Linked DNA regions of Homo sapiens: all the other regions are linked to region 2. The links are contacts of gene promoters, found by promoter capture Hi-C in human tissues and cell types (Jung and others, 2019). All regions are on one chromosome and are shown on one strand. Each heading gives the region's core, a stretch centred on a gene start or on the middle of the fragment in contact. The rest is flanking DNA. Distances are from core to core; before and after follow the strand shown. Region 1 has its middle 940 kb from the start of MIR4318. Region 2 holds the start of CELF4 (CUGBP Elav-like family member 4). Region 3 overlaps LOC112268212 (a long non-coding RNA gene).

What was found. The method cuts DNA at HindIII sites, captures the fragments that hold promoters and counts their contacts. A contact is called where the count stands out against the background at its distance.
Region 1: a contact is called between a fragment that was not itself captured here and the fragment with the promoter of CELF4 in region 2, in 1 of the 25 tissues and cell types used here (dorsolateral prefrontal cortex).
Region 3: a fragment that was not itself captured here is called in contact with the fragment with the promoter of CELF4 in region 2 in 1 of the 25 tissues and cell types used here (dorsolateral prefrontal cortex).

What each region holds. Positions count from the first base shown.
Region 1 is chr18:38,593,706-38,597,417 of GRCh38, forward strand. No RefSeq gene overlaps it. Among named protein-coding and RNA genes, the nearest start is that of MIR4318, 940 kb to the left of the region's middle. The HindIII fragment of the contact is 5,190 bases long and covers 1-3,712 here.
Region 2 is chr18:37,563,541-37,567,123 of GRCh38, forward strand. It overlaps CELF4 (CUGBP Elav-like family member 4), which reads right to left and starts at 2,258. Exons shown (of 13, transcript NM_020180.4): 1 at 1,816-2,258. The coding sequence starts at 2,101. LOC124904288 (a long non-coding RNA gene) reads left to right here and starts at 2,737. Exons shown (of 2, transcript XR_007066345.1): 1 at 2,737-2,849; 2 at 3,039-3,148. RefSeq lists an enhancer at 1,802-2,305. The HindIII fragment of the contact is 29,207 bases long and covers 1-3,583 here.
Region 3 is chr18:38,573,700-38,577,523 of GRCh38, forward strand. It overlaps LOC112268212 (a long non-coding RNA gene), which reads right to left. Exons shown (of 3, transcript XR_002958210.1): 1 at 3,801-3,824; 2 at 1,268-2,032; 3 at 1-413. Among named protein-coding and RNA genes, the nearest start is that of MIR4318, 920 kb to the left of the region's middle. The HindIII fragment of the contact is 5,644 bases long and covers 1-3,824 here.

The DNA of each region.
Region 1 (3,712 bases), core at 990-3,489, 1.0 Mb after region 2:
TTTTTGTCTTCCTCTTGACCTACCTACAAATAAGGTGGTGGTCCGTCATTTAGATGGCATCACGTGGCTTCAAAAGAGGGCAGGTGTGCAACACTGTACTCCAGCCCATTCTCACCCTCATCTCATTATTGCAATTACCTTCTTCGGAACCAAAAGAACTCAACTTAAATAATCCTCTGCTGAGGTGTTTTCCAAAGCATCTTTTCCTAAAAACTAGTTCCAGGAAACACAAATTTACCACAGGCTCTTAATAATTTAGTCATTCTCTGGATAAAGTTTTCCTTTTATGTATATGAGTTTATAGTACTGACATTAAGCAAATTCAGAACCTGGTTCCATTTGCTGTACATAAAATGGCAGAAAATAATGTTCCATTTGTGACCCTGTGCATAAATTACGTGGAGACCATGAGGTGGGATTTCTGGGCTATCAAAGTTCTTATTTCCGAAAACATCTCCACCAGCTGAAGTACAAAGTACATACTATTAAACTTTTGAGTTGTGTCGTTATCTAGAGAAGATGGGTCTTGTTAAAATGTAATCTTTTCTTCAGCAATTAACTTATTACTGCCTTTAGCACACTTAGGTAAATTAACACAACTATATTACAGATATGAATATTTATCTAGGATGACCAATAAAATGAGGAGAGTTGGTCTGCCTACCTCACACTGGTCATGTTGGGAGCTCCAGAAATTGCCAAACAGGGTATGAGGGAAATCTTGAGGTGAACAGAAATGGTGAAACGTAGAAGAAGGGATGCCATCTCACAGTGGAGGGGAACAATCTTGCTGTCTCTAGGAGAGTAAAGGTGATTCAGCTTCACAGGGGTTCTGACCTAGGATCCAGTGTAGGTCTCCATAAATGTGGTGAGTTAATAATGATGCTTTCTGGGATCTTCTTGTTTTCAATGATGGGCACTGTGGAGGCACCAACTGTAGCAGAGGACATGCCAATAGACCAGAGGCAATAGCATCATCACACAAAGGTCAGGAGATGAGCCCCTTAATAATATGTATACAGAGATTAAAGAATATTGGAAAATGTGGTCAAAAAAATATTAAGTCTTCTTCTACCCTCAGCACTCTGCTGGAGAAAAAATGAAATCTTGAATGGGCAGAGCTAAGACTTTAGCAATTGTGTCAAGGTGGATTTCTCTATACTGAAAGTAACTTCTAAAGGGGACTAGTATGTACCACTATTTCATGGAAATTCAGACATAATTCCTTTCTGCTTCAAGCTTGTATTCCAATGAATGATACAGACCAAAAAACCAAATGCCTGCAAATTAAATCCCATATAGTTAAAAAGAACTACAATCATTAAAAAAAGGAGATGATAGAGAATAATGGAAAATTTATTTTAGATGTGATAATCTAGAAAAATTTTATTAATAAGGTAACATTGAAGTTAGGAACCAAACAATTGTAAATATCAGGAGAAGGCCTCTGAAACCCTGAGACAGGTGAAACCTTGACATAATAGAAGGATGGAAAGAGCAAATTATAAGAGGGTAGCAAGAAAAAGGAAGAGTGCTGCAAGACAAAGTTGGAGTGAGATGTAGGACCCTATCACTGGGTAAGAGGGCTGGAGTCACAGAACATATGCAGTCACTCTGGGTGTTTGAGGGGCATGGCCCAATCAAATTTACATCTATAAATAAATACTTATGAGAATTCAAGGCAGGCAGAAAAGCAGAAGGTTACAGTTAGAGTTTTGCCGTCATCCAAGGGAGTTGAGGTGTCCGGACTAATGTAGTGGAAGTGAGGACATTCAAAAAGATGGCAGATTTGTGATGGGTTTAGGAGAAATGACAGGGTTGGCTGATGTGTTAGTTAGGGAGGGTAAAGAAAAGGGAGGAGCGTTTGAGAATAACGTTGCATCTCTGGTGAAAAACTAGGAAAAGAGTTTTGGGGAGAAAGCAGGAGCTTTAATTTACATATGTTTAAACAGATGTGTTAAGGGAGGCAGTTGAATATAAAATTCTGTAGAAGGGCAGTAATAAAGATAGTCTTTGTTTGTTTAAATCTCCTTGAATTTTCTTCATACTCGTGGTTATAAAGAGACAGTTTTTGCTGGTGGTGTTATTTATTTAAACTTTCATTCATTCAATCAAGATGATATATTATTCAAGGCCTTGAGTAAGGTGCTGTGAGGGTATGAAGATGAGAAATATACCCTTACAGGTTAGACTATACCAGGATATGCCTGCTTCCAGCCCTGCTTATGGGCTCCAGAGTAACATGGTCCTGGCTTTAGTGTTACTTCGGCCAGTAACTGAGTTTTGGCCTTTTGCTTAACTTCATGTCCCTCATCTCCAAAAATAAGGACCCAAATACCTTAATTTATGGCATTTTGGGAAATGTTAACATGGTAAACATGGGGAAACAATGACCAGCACTTAGGCAGTTTTCACTAAAATACGATTAGTGTTGTTTGTAGGAACATTTGTTTATATTTATTTTGGGGTGTGTCAAATATGGACACTGGCAAACTGGAAGTTATCCAGAAAAAAAAATAATCAGGGTATCAAAGGATCTCAATCATAGCATGGCAAAAAAACAAAACAAAACAAAACAAAACAAAACAAAAAAAAACTGCACATTCTGCTTTGGAAAAAAAAAAGTTTTAGGGATATTTCGTGGCTGCATTAAAGTGAAATTCTATAATAAACAGGAAGATGAGATCTCATTCTGAAAGCAAACTTTAGGCACTTGGATGGTTTGCTTTATTGGCTAGTGAATTCCACAATGGGGCAGTGTTCAGGCAGAGCCTAAGAGATATTTAAGTGAAGGTAGAGGGCCAAAAATCCATATAAAGGGAGGCTGCAAAGAATGACCTCACAGTTTCTTTACTTTAATCCTAGTGCTATTTCTATCAAGGAGTTTACAAACAAGTAGAGCTGTTGAAATTAGAATAAATTAAGTGGAATACAAGGCAGTAAGCGATACAGTGTTTTCAAGAATTTTCCTTCAAATAGAGTAAAAGTCTTTTTTTCCAGGAATTCTTAGAAAAACCCGATGTGTTAAATTTGAACTCCTTTGATAAAGCCTCGTCCATGCATCCTTTTTCTTTCCCCCCGCAATTTTCTTTTTCCTTCAGTTAGATCTTTAAAGCACTCTGGTGGAACAAAGACTTCTCCAATTGAAATTTACAAGCATGATTTAAGACTGTATTTTTATTTCCAGAAAAGAATAAATCACTTAAATTTGGGGTAACCTTGGGAAAAGTACAATTATAATAATGCTCATCAAGCACCTAGATGACTACTTAGCATTTAGTAGGCCTCTGAGTGGCAGTTTCCATCTTCTTTTCCTCCTTTTGCGCTCACCATCCATGAAAGCACATGCTAATGTTTCCCTCCTTGAAGTCCTTCAGTCTTACCTAACTCATTAAATCACTTAGTAATACTTAATTGTCTTTTAGCTTTCAATGTTTTAGGATTGTCTCCCTAACTAGACTTTTATATTTAAAAAGCCTTACATGATGCCAATAATTCAGTTAGCCATGCTGTCTACATTTGATATTTGGACATGTGATCTTATTAATGATTTTGTGCCCCTTCCCATTGCTAAAGGCCACTCTTTAAAGTGCAACATCCCAATTAAATTTATAGGGCATATCATGGCTTATAGAATTCATAGAAAATAATATTGACATTAAGATAATTCAGGATGTATGGCCCACGCTTTATATCCATTACAGACAGACTG
Region 2 (3,583 bases), core at 1,008-3,507:
AAACTACAAAGATATGGTTGACTTGAGAGGGAGGGGGGGAAAAAGAAAGTGTTTTCTTTTTTTCTTCGAATATTATTTTGAAGGCTGCCTCCCCGTTCCACCTTTCCAATCTCTCTTTTGAACAGACAGACATTTTCTCCATATTGGATAAAGGTTGCCTTCTCTCTCCATTACAGCCCCCACCCTCACCCCACCCCAACAAACCCAGTATATTTCCATTCTGCTGTGTTTTTGTGTTACTCAACATGCCATTAACTTTAAGATTTACTCCTCAGCAGGCAAGCTGGAAGATACTAAAGCCAATAAAAACTGCTCTCTGGGACTCCAACTATGAAGAGTTTGGAGCTCTGTTTAGTATTCGAACGAAGGGAGGGCTGGAGAAAGAGGGTGGTTGTGATAGTGAAAATCGCTGCTGCTTAGAGAGCCAGACAGCTCTGCGCTCTGCACCTAATGTGCTGGAGGATCAGCTGTGTCCATAGCCCATTTGTGGCCAAGGATGAGGCTGCTCTCTATGTGGGGGTGGGTGTGCGTGTGTTTTCATCTTTAAAACCACCAGCTGTAACAGCATCTTCGGCGGCTCTCCACACTACTGTTTATTAAAAACGGAACATCCATACACATCCCCTACAACTTCCTTAGCCCCGTGCTCCTTCCCTGCCTGGCGATCAATCTCTCTCAGAAAGCATTTAACTTGCCCACATAGATCCAGCACCGATTCATTCCCGCTGCACATCCTATATATTACTGTTAGGAAGCGGAGCACTGGGCTAATTTCGTCACCCACCAGCCACCCACACACATTCTACAACTGAACACGTTTGGGGCTCTGCTTTAAAGATAATAAAACAAGGAGAAAACAGGCAGGCTGCGGACAATTCCCATGACCACTTTCCTAAAAAGTTGCTGTGTTTTAATTCTTTGATTATTCTGTCTCCCCCTCCCCCAAGCACTCACTGGCAATGATCGCTTCAAGGGAGAAATAATGTACTATAAAGCTCTCTGCATGGTGAGTTTGGGATAAATTAGGGTACACCTTTCAAAATGCAAATCTCGCACACACATATTTTTTTCCCAAAGCCCCGCTTTCCTGGGAAGGGGACTATCCAGGCTTGCCAGACCCCCCACTCCACCCAGGGGATGGCTGGTTCCTTGCTAATTCTTGCCTTAGGTTTTATCACTGGTTCCTTCAAACATCCAACCCCCCCACCCCCAACACACACCACCATTCACACCACAATCAGATTATTGAGGCACACAGCTCGACAGGGAGAGTTTACTGTTACATTTAAATAAAAATTTCTCTTTGAATTTGTCACCTCTCTCCCTTTTAGACGGCTGCGCTCCTGCTACTCTAGCCCGGAGCAAAGGATGAGGAGACCACCTCCTTTAGTATTTTCAGCACCACGGCGATGGACAGCACCCTCGGTCCTCGGCCGGCCAGGAGCCCGCGAGTCCGTCCGCTCAGCGTCCTGGGCTCGACCGGTGCAGCCTTCCCCATCCCCATCTTTCAGGTCGCTGTACCCAAAAATCCAAGCCCCGTCTCCTCGATCCCCTCTCTCTTTCTCTTCATCGGCGCCCGCTGCTCTCTCCATGGCATCGTTCCTATCAGCACCTCGCCCAAAACCCAGTCTTGCCCCAGCGAACAGCTCCCCACGCACCCCAGCTCTGGTCTCCGCTGCCCGAGCGCCTCCCTCCACCGCGCCCGCCCGAGGCTTCCTCTCGCTTAGTCCGCCGCTCGTCAGTCGCCGGCCGGCCGGTCGGCCCGCCAGCCCGCTCCTGCTCCCCGGCAAAGTTGGGAGGGAAAGGTGTACTCACCTTTGTGCATGCCTGTGAACCTGTCCTTCAGAACCGTAAGCTCGTAGATTTTGCCAAACTCCTCGAAGAGGGGCTTGAGGTCCTTCTCATCCAGGTTGCGGGGGATCTGCCCAATGAACAGCTTGATGGCATCGTGGTCCTTCATGGGAATGGTCGACGGGTTCCCCGGGCTGTGGCTTAATCCGTTCATGTGCCCGGCACTGCCCGGGCTGCTGCCGAGCCCGTTGGTACTGAGGCTTGCGTTGTCAGCCTGTCCGTTTGCTAACGTGGCCATCTTTATATACATAGAGAAAATCTTCTTTCCTTTTATTCTTTCTCGCTCACACTCTCTCGCTCCTCTCTCTCGCTCGCTCGCGCTCACACACGCACACGCATACACACACTCGGGTTCTCTCCCCCTCGGTTTCTCTACACCTCGCTCTCCGCTCGCTCTCTGCTCTCTCTCTTTCTCCTCTTCTCTCGCTCGCTCGCGCTCGCGCTCTCTCTCTGCTCTCCCCCCTCTCTCTCTCCCTCCCTCCCTCTCCTCTCTCTCTCCCTCTCTCTCTCCCTCTCTCTCTCCCTCTCTCCTCTCTCTCTCGGTCTGATCTGATTTTTTTTTTCTTTTTTTCTTTTTTTTTTTTTTTTTTTTTTTTTTACATTGAACAGACAGGATCTCTGTCCTTTCCGTTTAAACAGGCTGGACCGGTTCAAGTTCCCAGCCAGACCAGGGGTGGGGGTGGCGAGTGTGCGCGCGCGGAGGAGGGCGCGGGGGGCCGGGAATGGGCGCGCTGTGGGGGCCCGCGCCACGGCGGGCGGCGGCCGGGGGCAGGGCGGCGTGGGGCGGCGGCCACCGCGCCTCCCCCGTCGGCGGCCCCGCGCCGTGGCGATGGTACAGTCCGAGACGGCCCCCGGCTATAAATAGCGCCAGGCGCATGGCTCTTCGGGAGGCGCTGAGATTCCGGGCCCGGCGGCCGCGGGGAGCGGGTGTCCGTGAGGAGCCGGGCAGCCGGCCTCCTCTCTTTGCCTTTTGGGGGTTCTTTTTGTAATAGCAGCAGGTGCAACTTTTTGTATTTTAAAAATAGTGATTTTTATTTTCGTGTGGGTATGTAGGGGGGCTTTATCCACCAAGCTATGCTCTATTAGGGCGCCAGGCGGGCGAAGCAAAGGCAGGGATGGCGGGCGGGGCGGCGGCGGAGGTGGAATGGGCGCTTTTTTCTTCCATCTGGCTTTATTTATTTATTTAGACTAGAAAAGCGAGCCGGCTTGGAGGGAGTCCGCCCGGGGATCCGAGCGCGCATTCATCAGTGTCGAGAGAAAAAAAGCTACATAAATATATATTATGTGGATAAATCTATAGACAAGAGCTCTCTCGCGCGCGCTCTCTCCCTGTCTCTCTGTGTGTGTCTTTCTCTGTTTTTTTTTCCTCCTCGCACCCCCAACCTGCCAGAGCAGCCCCACATCTTCCTCCCGCCCGGCATCTACCGCCACCCAAGCCACCTGCCAGGATGGGGCTGGGAGCTGTCGGGCCGCGCCGGGGGGCAGAGGGACGGGGAGTAGAGACTCGGGGTCCGACCCCCGCCCCAACCCGCTTCCGAAGGCGGAAGGTGGGGGTCCCCGTCCCGGGCGGCCTCCCCCGCCCCGGAGAGCGCGGCTGGTCCCCCGGTGGCTGGCGGGAGGAAGGTAGGAGTCGGGCGCCCCTGCCCGCTCGCCCGCCGGAGGGGGAGGAAGGCGCTGGGCGCGGTGGCCGGTGAGCCAGCGCGGGGGATGGCTTGATTTGCCCTCGTCTGCT
Region 3 (3,824 bases), core at 1,187-3,686, 1.0 Mb after region 2:
TGTATCAGAAACTGGAACTGATGGTGAAGATGAGGAGTACCTATTTTCAAAATTCTCCCCAGATAACTGTGATGAGCAACCATATTTGGATATTTGATTCAGCAGTTCTGGAGTCAGAGACTTTGCATTTCTAATCAGTTTCCAGGTAATGCTCAAGATGCTGATGGCAGAATCACATTTTGAGAACCGCTGGCCTAAACCAATGTTTCTGAACACTGGTTGCACATTCAGATCACTTAGGAATATTTTAAAAATTCAATGTCTAGACTGTGACTTCATCCACTTACGTCAACTCTGGCGTGGGACTCCAGGTATCTGTGGCTTCTAAAGCTCCTCAAATTATTCTAGTGTGCAGCCAGGGTTAAGGATGTCTTTGTTCAAACCAGCTTTAGTGAATTCAATTCAATTGTCATCTGTTATGGGCAAGACATGTATTGATATACTCTATGTAGTGACTCATATTACAAATTAATACTTAAGCTTAATTACAGGATTTTTTAAATGTTATTTTTGCTGATTAACTATACTTTCTTTTGACAAAAAAATGAAATAATAGAACTCAAAATGCCAGCTCTAGTTGCTGAATTGGCCTTTTTGGTCAAAATAGTTTTTTTTTTTCTTATACTTTGATCAATTAGATACTTGTATTCAGATATCCCATGGGAATTTTTAAAATGTAGATTCACGTCTCAAACCATCTGAATCAGGATCTGTAGGGTTTGGCTCAAAAGTCTACATTTTAAGACATTCCTTTAATCACAATATTGGTTTATATGCCAATCAAATCAAGTTCTGAAAACATCTATTCTTTTTGTATATTAGAGATGCCTTTTATCTTTAATACCCCTTCACTATTTCCAGGAAAAGTTATCCCAAAATATGCTCCTTTTTGTGTGTGGACCTTATGAATAATAATAATAATAATCTGTGTAGACCTTATGAATAATGTAAACTGAAATTATCTGTTGGCCATATATTCCAGAATGTTTGTTGGGATTCGGTTAGCTGCAACATACATAATAACACAAACTCTAAAATATATAATAATTTAAAGATTATTTCTTGTAACTTTTTTTTTTTTTTTTAAGACAGAGTCCTGCTCTGTCGCCCAGGCTGGAGTACAGTGGTGTGATCTTGGCTCACTGCAACCTCCGCCTCCTGGGTTCAAGCAATTCTCCTGTCTCAGCCTCCCGAGTAGGTGGGACTACAGGCACCTGCCATCACACCAGGCTAATTTTTTGTGTTTTTAGTAGAGACAGGGTTTTACCTTGTTGGTCAGGCTGGTCTTGAACTCCTGATGTCAGGTGATCCACTCACCTCGGCCTCCCAACATGCTGGGATTATAGGCATGAGCCACCACACCCGGCCTCCTGCTGTCTTAATCGTTCAAGCAGGCGTTGCTAGTCAGCCTGAAGTTTTCCTCCATTGATGACTGAGTAACTGAGTTTCTTGACGGCTTGTGGTATCACCATCCCTCAGGGCTTCTCTATTAGCTTCACCCAGGCAGAGGGAGGGGCAAGAGAGCAAGGAGTGTGGTGGGACCACATCCAATACACACCTTGGCCCAGAAATAGCACCAACACCTCTGTGGCCGCAGTCAGCCACTTGTAGGATATCATATGCAGTTATAAAGAATGAGTCAAACACACTAAAAAAGACTGAGGCTAAAGAAATGAAGAGAAGAAACTCGGACATTATCTTTTTGACCTCTAGACAAAATCATGCCTGATGCTAGATTTACCTTCAAACTTCAAAATCATGTGAACCATTTTTTTTTAACACAAGCCAAGATGGGTACCTTTTCCATCATGAAAAGAATAATAAAATAAGAAATATTTAGTTTACCAGGAAGATGACATAGAATAGCAGTCAAAAATATAAAATAATAAATTATTTAACATTTCCTTTTTTTCTTATTTTGCTGCTAATATTGGTCTGTGCACATTATGGCAAACCTGTTGACTAAACAGTCAAGTTTCTCTGAAGTCTGTGTCAATGTAAAGTCAGCATTTCCTCTGCCTTTGGTGAGGTGCTGAAAAGAGAAACCACAAAGCTAAGATGAAGATGTGCTGAATCTCCTTGGATCTCACCTGCAGTTCTAGTCACAGTACTCAAAATAAACATGGTGTAACTAGGGAAGTTTTAAGAAAAGGGCATTGAGATGACTAAGGGGAGGTTGAGGCAGTCATTGCTTGATAATGACTGAGATGTGTAAGCCATGCTTAGACAGGACAGAGAAAGACGTGAAACAGGCAGTGTGTCTGGAGGCCATGCTTAACTGAAAGTGCTATATGCCCGACATCAAGCCAGGCACTTGAAGAAACACTGACTCTACCATGGCCCCTGGCCTTAAAAGCCCCACATTTCCTACAGAAGATGATTCTATGATGTGTCAGATTGCAGAGTTTGGGGACATTTGGACCTGCGTTTGAAATTTAGCTTTACTCTCTTTTGGTTACTAAACTTAAGCAAGTCACTTAACTGCCATGAGAAGAGATTTTTTTTTTAATCTGCAAAATGGGAATAACAATAAACTTGTCATATGGGCAATCTCATTAGTATTATAGACATTGATCCTTAAAATAGGATCAACATCTATTAATAAGAATAGCAGTAATCCTCAAAACTTGAGATCCAAGTTTATATAAAGTAGACACATTAAGAAATGTCGTGATGAACTGATGAAATGTGATATTCAAAATGAGGGATGTATTAGCCCATTTACACACTGCTATAAAGAACTGCCTGAGACTTGGTAACTTATGAAGAAAAGAAGTTTAATTGACTGACAGTTCTGCAAGCTGTACAGGAAACATGACTGGGAGGGTCAGGAAACTTACAATCATGGCAGAAGGTGAAAGGAAAACAAGCATGTCTCACCATGGTGAAGCAGGAGAGAGAGAAAGCAAGCAGGGAACTGCCACACACTTTTAAACCATCAGATCTCATGAGAACTGAGTTACTATCATGAGAACAGCAAGTGGGAAATCCACCCCCATGATCCAATCACCTCCCACCAGGCCCCTCCCTTGGCACTTAGGGATTACAATTCAACATGAGATTTGGGTGGGGACACACAGCCAAACCATATCAAGGGACAAGAGGACAGGCGAATATCAACATCAGTTTTAGCGTTATACAAATGGATGGGTTCTTCAGAAAAGCAATTTTTTTCTTAACACTTTAATGATGCTTCTGATAAAAGACACAATTCTGAGAATAATGGGTAATAGGGCTCATAAAAAGGAATTAAGATTTTTAATAATGCGTGGGTAAAACTTTGACATTTATGAAGTTTATTAAACTATATCCAGACCGCTTTTTCTCCAAGTTGTTTAAAAAAAAAAGTCTTTGCAGTAAGAGTAGACTGGTTTCTCTGATGTCTGTTAACCTCATTGTGTTCAGTGAACAGTCACGTGACCCTTAAGCAGGAAGCTGTTTCTACTAACCCAATTCACTTCACAGATATAGAGGGCCTGATCTGCTTCTTTTCTTTCTCTTCCCTCTGAATGTATTTTGGTACATCACATAAGTAGCATATGTTTATATAAGCTATTATACATATGAAATGTGTAATATGCATATTTTAACCTTCGTTTAATCTATATACTGAACAGTAGGAAAAATCACTGGAGTGCCACTCTGGGATTGGCAAACTGGCCTAGTTTTGGAGGATTTCTATGCTGAAGAATGGCAGGAGAGCTCCTTGCTCACACATCCTCTAAAGATATTTTTTATAAGGGTCTATAACAGTGGGTCAAAGAAATAAAGTAAATTGTTAGAAATCTATATTTGATTACCTTGGTGATCATAAAGAAGAGTGA